Linked DNA regions of Homo sapiens: regions 2 and 3 are each linked to region 1. Evidence: promoter capture Hi-C in human tissues and cell types (Jung and others, 2019). All regions are on one chromosome and are shown on one strand. The core of a region is centred on a gene start or on the middle of the fragment in contact, and the rest is flanking DNA. Distances in the headings are between cores, read along the strand shown.

What was found. Contacts are between HindIII fragments. The study calls those that stand out against the background at their distance.
Region 2: a contact is called between a fragment that was not itself captured here and the fragment with the promoter of FIGN in region 1, in 3 of the 25 tissues and cell types used here (aorta, heart left ventricle and mesenchymal stem cells).
Region 3: a fragment that was not itself captured here is called in contact with the fragment with the promoter of FIGN in region 1 in 1 of the 25 tissues and cell types used here (dorsolateral prefrontal cortex).

The regions. Positions count from the first base shown.
Region 1 is chr2:163,734,182-163,738,015 of GRCh38, forward strand. FIGN (fidgetin, microtubule severing factor) reads right to left here and starts at 1,827. Exons shown (of 3, transcript NM_018086.4): 1 at 1,657-1,827; 2 at 722-891. The coding sequence starts at 746. RefSeq lists enhancers at 2,434-2,950, 2,951-3,466. The HindIII fragment of the contact is 21,926 bases long and covers 1-3,834 here.
Region 2 is chr2:164,131,684-164,135,517 of GRCh38, forward strand. No RefSeq gene overlaps it. Among named protein-coding and RNA genes, the nearest start is that of FIGN, 400 kb to the left of the region's middle. The HindIII fragment of the contact is 3,855 bases long and covers 194-3,834 here.
Region 3 is chr2:163,365,294-163,369,127 of GRCh38, forward strand. No RefSeq gene overlaps it. Among named protein-coding and RNA genes, the nearest start is that of FIGN, 370 kb to the right of the region's middle. The HindIII fragment of the contact is 3,099 bases long and covers 536-3,634 here.

The sequences.
Region 1 (3,834 bases), core at 577-3,076:
AATTCTGTCACAAGTTAAAAGTAAAAAGCGCTGACAGGCAGACGAGTGAATGGAAAGGGGGAAGAAAAACCTATCCCTACTCTTTAAAAGACATCAAGGACTTTGGACAATCAAAATATAATTTTTATTTTCATGTAAAAGACACCTCTTCACTTACCCGCCCCCCCCAAAAAAAAACCACACTCAGAAGAACTGATTACTCCACAAAGTGCAAACATCAAGAGCAGATAGTCAAACTGCATTAATAGATTGAGAAAAATAAAATTTTCATCCAGTCCTGTTCCTGTGTGTGTACATATATATAGATACACTTTCATTAGTTAGTAATCTTTCCCAACACTCCTGCCCTCTCCCCTTTGCCCAGCCTCCCTCCTTCAAAAAAAAAAAAAAAAAAAACCCACACTGAGTTTAACTAATTTACATACTATTTGACTTCAGCAGTTATATATATATAGTGCATTACTAGTAACGTGCAACTTCTGGATGACAGCTAAAACCGATAAAAGTGGATTCAAGTAATATATTAATCAAAACTGCAATATACAAACAAGTGATAGCAAAAGAAAAAAAAGCATGGTGACATTAAACATATATTTTTTAAAAAAAGGAATTCTATATCATGAGCAACTGCTTGCCAGGCAGTCTTCAATGGTTTTATCATGCTATTTCATTTGTCTTTCCTATTTAGATGCAAAGGAAGTAAATTCCAAAACTGACATACCATAAACACTGGTGCTACTGATCATTTCTTGCTGGCAGCACAAAAAGCTGAATTGGATTTCTCACAAGCAGGAATTCCAAAGGTTGCTTTTCATTAAAGCCACTTTTCCTCTCAGCTATCAAATGTCACTGCCTTGAAACGTGGGCCCTTTCGTCAGGTATTCATTTAACCTACATGCATATAATTAAGGGGGAAAGCAACATCAACAAAAAGGGGATCTCAGATCACAGGAGAAGAAAGAAAGGAAAAAAAGCACATGACCAGGAATGCAAGTCCATGTCAATTTCACTCACTCCCATTGAAACTAACAAGAGCTCCGGGGAGGACGGTAATAGGATCAGTGGATTGTATATACCATTAAATTATACATCTTTCTCTCCCGTTCCTTGCCAACAATACGCCCACCACGCTGTACCCCCTCCTAGATGATGTGCTTACATTTTTCTGCAACCGATCTTCTGACATTTTCTCGTTCCCCCAGCCACGAGATTGTAATTTAACCTCAACTTTTTGTGTGTGTGCAAGATTCTTATTTACACTTCTTATTTACTTAGAAGTTAGTTCCCGAAGAAAGTCTAGCCCCACCCTATGGCTCCGCTTTCTTATTTTTTTATTTTTGAAGTAAAAAGATAGTAATAAGTAAGCCCAATATAGCGAAAAGCGAGATTCTTGCAATCGCGAACTCTTAATCCCATACTATTGTTACAATGATTAAGCAGCAAAAATATGCATTATAATGTTTCAGGGCTACTTTGAACAGAGAAATTAGACAGCAGGTTGGCGTACAGAATAGAAACGAGTGGAAATTGAATTTAATGTTTACGGCACAACTGAAGATCTCTTTTAATTACAGGTCTTGGATGTATTTATATTCTTTAAAAATAAAACAAAAACAAATTTAAACAGATGGTAGAAAACTACGAAGCTCCTCTTACCTGAACGCGCGGAGAGAGAACCCGATAGGTTAGCGTAGCATCGATCCGATGTGTTTGCTGATGAATGGAAGCTAGGGTTAAGTGAAGGTGCCTATGATTTGAAATCATTCCAAGTTTTTGAAGGGAAGACGGACTGCAGCCTCTGCCATGTTGGAATTTCAAACCCAAAACAGCTGCTTGGAAGGAGCCAGCATGCCAGAGGCTGGGCGCAGGCGCAGAGCGCCGCAGAGCCAAATTCAAATCACTTTCACACTAAGAGCCAAAGATCAGTTTTCAAAGGAGAGAGGGAGAAAGAGACGGAGGCTGCCGTGAGGGAGAGAAGACGGGAGGCAGTGGCGAGAGGCGGGCAGTGGAGAGAGACGGGCAGCGGGAGGACCAGGAGGGAGAGGGAGAGGCGCACGGAGCCCGCGGAGCTGGAGGGGGAGAAAGGGAGGCGGGAGGCGAGCCGGCGAGCGAGCTAGAGACGCGCCAGAGATTCATGGGCAGGGAGGGCTCAATGGCCGCGCCGCGCCGGCCGGCCGGCCGCTCGGGTCATGTTACACGGCCGGGGCCGCGGCGGCCGCCCAGCCTCGCCGATGCGCTCACGCGGCCCGGAGGGGGCCCCGAGGTCATGATTACGCGCGCGGGGACTCGCAGCTCTCCCTGCACGCACTCTCTGGCGGCCCAGCCTGGGGAAAGGGGAGCAGCGCCGTAGGGGGAAGGGGGCTTTCTTTCCCACGCGTGACCAGCCGGCCCCTGCGCTCCCCGGCCTGCGTTGGAGGGCCCGGGACAGAGCCGCGCTGCTCCCCGGCCCGCGGGCTCTTCCCTGCCGGTTCCCGGCCCTCTCGACAGCTGCGGCCCGTCCGCCCTTCCCCACCCCCTCTGCGCACGGGACGGGATCTGGTCTCGAGAGCCTGGACCTCACCGGCACCCTCCCCGGGGCCCCCAGCACCAGCCAGAAAACGACTTGATCTGCTTAGAAGAGGCAACTTCGGGGAGAAAATTCGCGTTCGCCCAGTTCCCCTCCCCCGCCTCCCTGTGAATAAATAAAATCCTAAGTGTCTAGGTGTGCGGTCCCCTCTCGCGCTCCCTGGCTCCCCTCCCTACCTCCCCCAGGCGGCTCGGGCTGGAGAAAGCAGCGCCCGGGGGGCCCTGGTGTCGGCGGCTGGTGCGCAGGCATAGACGTTAGGCTTCTGCCTTCCCAACCCCCCTCTATGGAGTAATCTGGGGACCCAGGAGTGGGAAGAGAGTAGGGGCTTTGTGGTGCTGGGAGCCGAGGAAGAATGAAATGTGCAGTTGAGTGTGTTGCTCGCATCCCAGGGAGCAATGCAGTGCTGATTGTCTGTTGCTGAGATAGCCTTTTGTTCGGAACATAAGGTTTAAGAAACACACACACGTTTTCTGGGGTCTCTTGTTAGATGTAAATGTGCGGCATCCAGACGCTTACTATGCAGTGTAAGCTCAGTTGGTTTACTAATCACCCCGCCCCACCCGCAAACAATCAGGATCATTTGAATGGGAACCTCATTCAGACTTCTAGGCTGAGAGTATTGCCTTCAACCTATTTCATTCTAGACTAGCCAACCATCCAACTGAGATAATAAAGCAAACAATAACATTTGATCATGATGTCTACGAGATAATGTGCCCGGCAAAGTTCTTTAGGAATTGTAATGAGAAAGAGAGTGAATTGGGTCATAATTTCTCTTCGTTTTCATTAAATATGACTTTAATAGATAAATGGTGAGTTTATACTTTGGCCTGGTAGACATCCAGTCTTCTATATTTCAACGAAGCTAAGAATGAAAGAGGCAAATTATATATTCCACCAGGAGCCCATCAAGCTGAAAATGTTACCTTTGAAGGTTGGAACCGAAAATGCACTTGCTGAGGACTGACCCTCCTCATAAGGGTGTTCACATTTCCCCCAGCTTCTCTGTTGTAGATTTGATAGCCTAAATTGCAGCTCTCCAGATGCTGAAATGCAGCTCTTTAAAAATGCCAAATATATACTTTGAAATTAATTCCATTCACCTTTTATGATGTTCTTACCTTTGAATGGATGCCTTTAGCTAACACACTGAGAAATAAAAATTATTTCAGTTAAATCTAGGCAGATGACAGAATTTAAAAGACAAAAAAAGAGTGATTCGAGATCCTAAGAAATATTTCTAAGCAATGAGATTTCTATTTGGAATG
Region 2 (3,834 bases), core at 871-3,370, 400 kb after region 1:
GCAAGTATATTCAGTTCTTCTCTCCCAGTGAAACTATGTAGCCTTAGAGGACTGGACATGTCCTCTCACATATGGAAGAAATAGTACAGTAGGAGGAAAAAGAAAGTCAAATAATGTGTACTGGGAGCAAAAGGTTCCTAATACCACTTGTCCCTATGTGTTGGCTGCTACCTATTGGTTTAAATGTGTAAACTCATATGTGTCCCTTTTGCATAGGTGAATTTTCTTTGGCTTTCAGTCACTTGCATCAAAAAGGAATATAAATAATATTTAGAATCTTGTTTTGTGTTGTTTCTGAGATAGCAAGAAGCTCTCTATTAAATGATGCAGTGAAAGAGTAATAAACGACTAATAGGAGTACAACTACACTTACTGTAAATATAAATAATATTTAGAATCTTGTTTTGTGTTGTTTCTGAGATAGCAAGAAGCTCTCTATTAAATGATGCAGTGAAAGAGTAATAAACGACTAATAGGAGTACAACTACACTTATTGTAAATATAAATAATATTTAGAATCTTGTTTTGTGTTGTTTCTGAGATAGCAAGAAGCTCTCTATTAAATGATGCAGTGAAAGAGTAATAAACGACTAATAGAAGTACAACTACACTTATTGTAAATATTTATATTTTATGCTTTCATTTTATTGTATTGTACATGTAATACGGTATTATTATATCCCATGATATATATTATATTTTGCCTATTTCTGTAAAGCCTTAAGTTTGTATTCTTAATGATGTTTATTAAGCACATAAGCTCCAAGAAGGTAAAACACGAAAATGCTAAAATTACTCTTTATAGTGGCTATTCATACTCTTGAGGATGCTTATTGTTTGAGAAAACATTGTGGAGAACAGCAAAGTTTCAATTCTTAGTCTAACAAATATTTACTATGTACCTACTCTGTGCCAGACAGGTGATAAGCAACATAGAAAAGATTATTGCATTAGGGAAATTATAAGCATGTTCTATAAGACAATAAATGAGTAAGCAATAAATAAACTAGATTATTTCAAATGTTGCTAAGTGCTATGAAGGCCAGATATGACAGAGACCTAATGTGACAGAGAGTAACGGAAATGGAAGAGTTTTGGACTGGAAAGTGAGGAAAGGCTTCTTTGAGAAGGAGAAAGGCAGGCAGACAATGGAATGGTAAGAAGGAGCTAGTCTTTGGGAGAGCATTCCAGATCCCGAAGCTGTAATGAACTTGGTATTCCGGGGAAACAGAAAGCTAGAGAGGCTGAATTATACTAAAGGAGGAGGAGTGTGATACAAATTAATAATACTATAGCTGGTCCCTGGACTAATAGAGGAGAGAAACTAAGAAGAAATTTGAGAAATAAGAATGCCCCTGAGCACTCCTAAAAAGATTCTTTGATTAAATGAATCTGAGACAGATAGAGAATAGAAAAAAGTCATTCTTAGTTATGTGTTTTCATCTTCCTATAGTTGGGATTGTCTTCCAATTATAAAATTAGCAGCTCTTTGTCAAAAGCTTTATCTGCTTGGAAACATTTTATAAACACCTCCCAGTGTTCTTTACATCACCTAAATTGCCCTCAAATATCCTCAACATCATGTAAAACGTGATGTTATTCTGTACTTCCTTGCCACAACTTGCTAGAGTCCTGATAGAGACAGAGCCCTAAACTCTAAGAATGTCAAGGTGGGAAGGAAGCTTGATCGGCTGATCTTGTGTTTGTCAATGAGGGGCATGCATCAGAATCCTTTATGGAACATTTTAAGATTATGCAACTGAGCTCCACTTTCTAAGACTATGATTCAGACAACCTAGGCATGAGATCTAGTAGTGTATATAGCAATTAAACAGTTTTAAAGCTAGAAGTGTTACATATTCCTAATTGAGAGACTCATTTTTCAGTAATAAAAAGAGCAACCAGAGTTAGAACCAGAACTTTTACCTCCTGATTTTGAAGTTTTCATCACCTTCCCCCCCAATTGTACATTTTATTCTTCCTAACAGTCTGTATTGAATAGTTACAAAAAATGGACTTATAGCCCAAAGATTCCCACTTTAATTTTCTTTAGCATCTTTGGATCATGCAATTTTAGAGTTAGAAATCTTTGCAACATCAGTTATCAGTGTGGGCAGTCAAAGAGAAGAAAGGAAGAAAAAGGACTTGAGTAGTCCAAATAGATGAAATTATTTCCCATGGTCATGCAAGTTTCCCTTAGGCCTACTCTAGGCTTTTGACCACTTTTGTAACTTTTCATAATGACCCAGTGTAGAGAAAAAACATGACATATATTTGACTAGTATGGAAACATTTGTGGATTGAGGAAGTGGAGAAGAAATGGTGTTTACCCTTCAACAAAACCTAATTATAATTATGCTTATTAGTTAATGTGCATAATGCCATTCTTCTTTTACCTAGACAGGGACTAAACATTAATTTTTTTCTGAATGAATAATTCTCACCTTGTGTCTGAATACTTAAAGTGACTTAAAATATAGAGGGTTTTCTATGCTGGACCAAATTTCCTAGTCTCTTTTTGGCTGTCACTTGTCCCTGCCTCTGAGAAATGAAGTATAAAAGCAGCTAAGAGTCTGCTCATTCCTCTGAAGCCAGAGGTAGAAGCTATTTGGAAGACATTTTGTTTCATCTCTTTTTAAACTTCTTTAAAAATATTTCTAGAGAGGGTAGCTAATAATAAGATAGGTAGGTGGACGCCAGGGAGTTAACTAAAATGTTCAGAATAGCACTGAGTACAATCACATTTAAAAATAGAGAGAACAAGCCAGGAACAAAACCCCACTAACTCAGTATATCTAGTTCAGATGTGGCTAATGTCCCTATTTAGCATCTTCAAGTTGCTCACATTTTCCTCAGCAAACTAAGAATGCGTCTCTAGCACTGCGGAGCCTGCCAAGTCCAAGGACATGGGAATGTGAATTATCAAACAAGCTGGGGATGAAAGGTGCTGAAATCATCTTTTTAGAATATTGCCAAAAAGCAGCTTGAGTTTTTAGGGTGCTAATTGCTGAAATATGTTTTAACTTCCGAATTCATTCTAAGCTTGTGACCCACTAACCAAAAAGTAAGAAGGATGTTGTCAAAAAAAAAAAAAAAAAATTTAAAGCCCAGCAATAAGAGGGAGCAGGGTAAGGAAGGCTTCCTGGAAAGCCACTTTATACCAAAAGAAGTGTATTTTATATGTGCCATATGGCTACACAATTATAATTGACCACCACAGTAATTCAGTCCTTTACTGATTTTCTCAGCCTATGTCTTTTCTGAACAGGGATAGGTTAGCCACGATCTTGAAAGTGAGGCAATTTGATAGCCAATTTGAATTCATTGTTCTTCTTATTACTGTATCTCTTAACTTTTCTCAAAAGTTATATATGCCCTTTACCTCATTTCAACCTCACAATAATTTATTAGAGCAAGTAAATATCTCTATGTTTTTCTGCAGATGAAACTGAGGCACACAGAGCTGGAATAAGTTGCCTTAAAAATAATATCTCTTGTTAGGGGCAGAATCTGAGCTGAACTGGAATCTCTTGCCTCACTGTGAGACTATTCCAATCCATACCACTGTCACTAGCCTTAAAGGTTCCAGGAATATATTACAAAAAGAACTTGGAGAAGTTTATTTTGATTTTTGAAAGAAAGCTCCAGCTAAATGATATTTCTGAAATAGTTTATTAGACAGCTCTGTGAGAAAGGAGCAGTACCAGATAAGGGTCTCTTTCAGCATTATGAATTTAATATCACAGAGGGATTTGCAGGATGAAATTATCCAGATTCACTGCAGACACAAGCAGGCAGTCACTAAATATATGAATTAATGCTCAGCTCTGGATT
Region 3 (3,834 bases), core at 835-3,334, 370 kb before region 1:
ATACTCTTTTGGGCTTTTCCCATCTTTTTTCTTCATGCTTTTCCATATTGGAAGTTTCTATTAATATTTCTTCAAGCTCAGACATTTTTCCTCAGCCATATCCACTCTACTAATGAGCCCATCAAAGGCATTCTTCATTTCTGTTACAGTGGGTTTTGTTGTTGTTGTTTTGTTTTGCTTTTAGAGACAGGGTCTCACTCTGTCACCCAGACTGGAGCGCAGTGATGCAATCGTAGTTCACTGATGCCTTGAACTCCTGGGCCCAAGTGATCTTCTCGCCTCAGCCTCCCAACGTCCTGGGATTACAGGCATGAGCCACCACACCTGGCTTTTTATAGTGATTTTTGTCTTTGGTATTTCTTTTTGGTTCTATCTTGGAATTTCTATCTCTCTGCCTACATTGCCCATCTATTCTTACATGTGTCTGCTTTATCCATTAGAGTCCTTGGCCTATAAGTCATAGTTTTAAAATTCTGAGTCTGATAATTTCAACATCCCCGCCATATCTGAGTCTGGTTCTGATACTCTTTCTGTTCTTTCAAACTATATTTTTTGCCTTTTAATATGCCTTGTAAGTTTTTTTTTTTTTTTTTTTTTTTTTACAGCCAGACTTCTTGTACTGGGTGAAAGGGACTGTGGTACATAGGCATTTAGTGATGTGGTGGTAAGGTATGGAGAGAGGGGGGGTGTTCTATAGTTCTATGATTATGTCTCAGTCTTTTAGTGGGCCTGTGCCCCTGAACTGTGAACTTCACAGGTACTTCTGAGTCAGCCCCAACTTAGATGGGGCAGGATAACTACAGTGGGTAGGAATTGGGTCTTTCCCTTTTTCCTAGTCATTTAGACTCTGACAAAATCCCAATAGTTTGGCTCTGAAAAAATAGTTTCTCTTGAGGGAAGTCCTTGTTAAGAAGAACAGAATGTCCTGTCATATTTCAAAATGATTCCTTCTCTCTTTTCTTGTCTGAAGCATGAGGAAATTTTTCTCCAATATTTACTGTGAGAACCTGGTTAAGTTCCTGGAGGTAAACTCACTTAAGTGTAGGGCCTCTTCTATGACTGGGGTCCCCTGGATTTTTTTAAATCTCAGGAGTGTCTAGTCTTCACCTCTGGCCATTCATCAAGGACAGTTCATGTTCTCTTACCCCCAAAACTAGTTCTTAAGGAGGTTTCTGCTAGGGGGCTTCTGCCCTAGTAGTTGTGATTATCTGTATCTGCCTGTCTGTCTCCAATTTTGGGGGGAGCAGTTTGCCTTGTGACTTCACCTCCTTGATGGACCAAGAGCTGTTATTCCATTTGTTCAGTTTTTTTACTTGTTGTTAGGATGGAGTGATAATTTCTATACTCCTTACATGCTAGCCTTGAAACAAACATCACAGCTGTTTTGGTTTTTTGTTGTTGTTGTTGTTGAGACAGAGTCTCGCTCTGTCACCCAGGCTGGAGTGCAGTGGCGTGATCTCGGCTCACTGCAAGCTCCGCCTCCCGGGTTCACGCCATTCTCCTGCCTCAGCCTCCCGAGTAGCTGGGACTACAGGCGCCGGCCACCACGCCCGGCTAACTTTTATTTGTATTTTTAGTGGAGACGGGGTTTCACCGTGTTAGCCAGGATGGTCTCAATCTCCTGACCTCGTGATCCACCCGCCTCAGCCTCCCAAAGTGTGGGATTACAGGCGTGAGCCACCACGCCCGGCCCACAGCTGTTTTTTAGATAAACTGGAAACATTTGTTCAAACATTTGTCTCGCTCTGTCACCCAGACTGGAGTGCAGTGGCGCGATCTTGGCTCATTGCAACCTCCACCTCCCAGGTCCAAGTGATTCTCCTGCCTCAGCCTCCCAAACAGCTGAGATTACAGATGTGGGCCGCCATACTTGGCTAATTTTTGTATTTTTAGTAAAGACAGAGTTTCGCCATGTTGGCCAGGCTGGTCTCGAACTCCTGGCCTCACGTGATCTATCTGCCTTGGCCTCCCAAAGTGCTGGAATTACAGTCATGAGCCACCACACCTGGCCTCAATTACATTTCATAAAGATAATTTTAGAAGAAAAAATGTGCTATTGAGTTGTATTTTATTTTAATTTTATCTAGTTGCAGTTTTAATATTTATTGAATAATGATTACAGACAATTTAAATTGATATTTATAACTTTATAATACCAATCTCAGATATAAAGCAAGTCATATCATCATGCCATCATATTCCTTTACTATTGGTCATTTCTTTACTATTTTAGTTGAAAACAACAGAAACTTTCTCTCATTATCTTAAACAGACAAGGAATTTATTGGAAGGCTGTAAACACAAATAATATCCAGAAAGACTGGGACACAAGGCCTGGCAAGAATCCAAGACAGGAAAGGCACAGCCCAAATCTTCTATTTCTGTTTAGAATGTCACCTAAGGACACCTAAAAACTACAGAGGATAACACTGCTAAATCCTTAAGTCCACCAGATTTTCTATAAAAATAACCCTGATCAGACTGATTGCCTTTGTCACCTGCTCACAAGATTCAAACTCTCAGATAGAAACACCTGACTAGGCACACATAGCTCACTTGTCCTCCTCTCTGGAAGGAGGTAGAGGTGAATTATTTGCCAACACTTCTATCATTACCATTGGGTTCCCATGCATTTGATTATGCCTTCCTGTCCCATTTATAGAGACCAGAACTAAGCAGCACAGCCAAAACAACAAATGCCTCTGTACTTTTTTATTTGACCATGGGGAAATAAGTTGGCATTTCTAGTCTAAATAAATAAGGTGCTGAAATGTACAGAGTCCACTCTTGGCATAGGATTTGACATAAACAGTATGCGTTAAATAAATGTTTGTTGAATTGAATTCTGTGTAAATAGAGGCAGTATTACAAATAATGAAAAATGTTGCAAACTGTGAGCATCATTTACATTTGCCATTGGAATTTACTATGTGATTTTTATAACAAATTTACCCCTAATTGTGCTTAAACTAGTAAAAAACATAAATCTATATTAGTAATAAAAATAAAACTAGCAATTCTCTGAGCTTATACCACCCAGTCATCATGGAGGAAGGTAGCTCAGAAGCCTGCTGAGTGGCATTAACCATTTACACCAAGCTTGTTCAACCCACGGCCTGAGGGCTGCATGCGGCCTAGAACGGCTTTGAATGTAGCCCAACACAAATGTATAAACTTTCTTAAAACATTATGAGGTATTTTTGCAATTTTTTTAGCTCATCTGCTATGGTTAATGTTCATGTATTTTATGTGTGGTCCAACACAATTCTTCTTCTTCCACTGTGGCCCAGGGAAGCCAAAAGATTGGACACCCCGATCTACACAGAGATAATCAAAGGCTGGTTAACCAAAGATTAAGACATTTCCAAGAGTTTATTGTGGTTGGAAGGACCTCTAGAGTCAGAGGTTTGGGCACAACTTTGAAGTTGCTTATCAGAAGCTTTTTAGAAAATATCTGAACTTGTTTGGTCAGAAAATTGGGCTGTAAGCCCCATGATACTACATATTTCTCATAAGGTATCAAGAATGGATAGGTTTAAATTAGGTTGAAAATTTTGCAAGAATGGCACTTTTTACAGTATTGCAGTATTTCTAACTGCCACCTATCCTAATCCCAGGCCATGCATGTATAGCTTCATGAAATGTGCAGCATCAAATAAATTACCAGGCTTTTTGAACTTTGAAAAGTGACAAAAAAAAATAAGAAAACTCTTGACTTGAGAGAGTTAAAGTTTAGATATTCCTTTAGAGTTAAGCCAAATTGCTCAACCCTTATCACAGTGTAGCTACCCAGTGTGAAAGCCTTAAATAAATAAGTTATCTATGTAAGCTTGT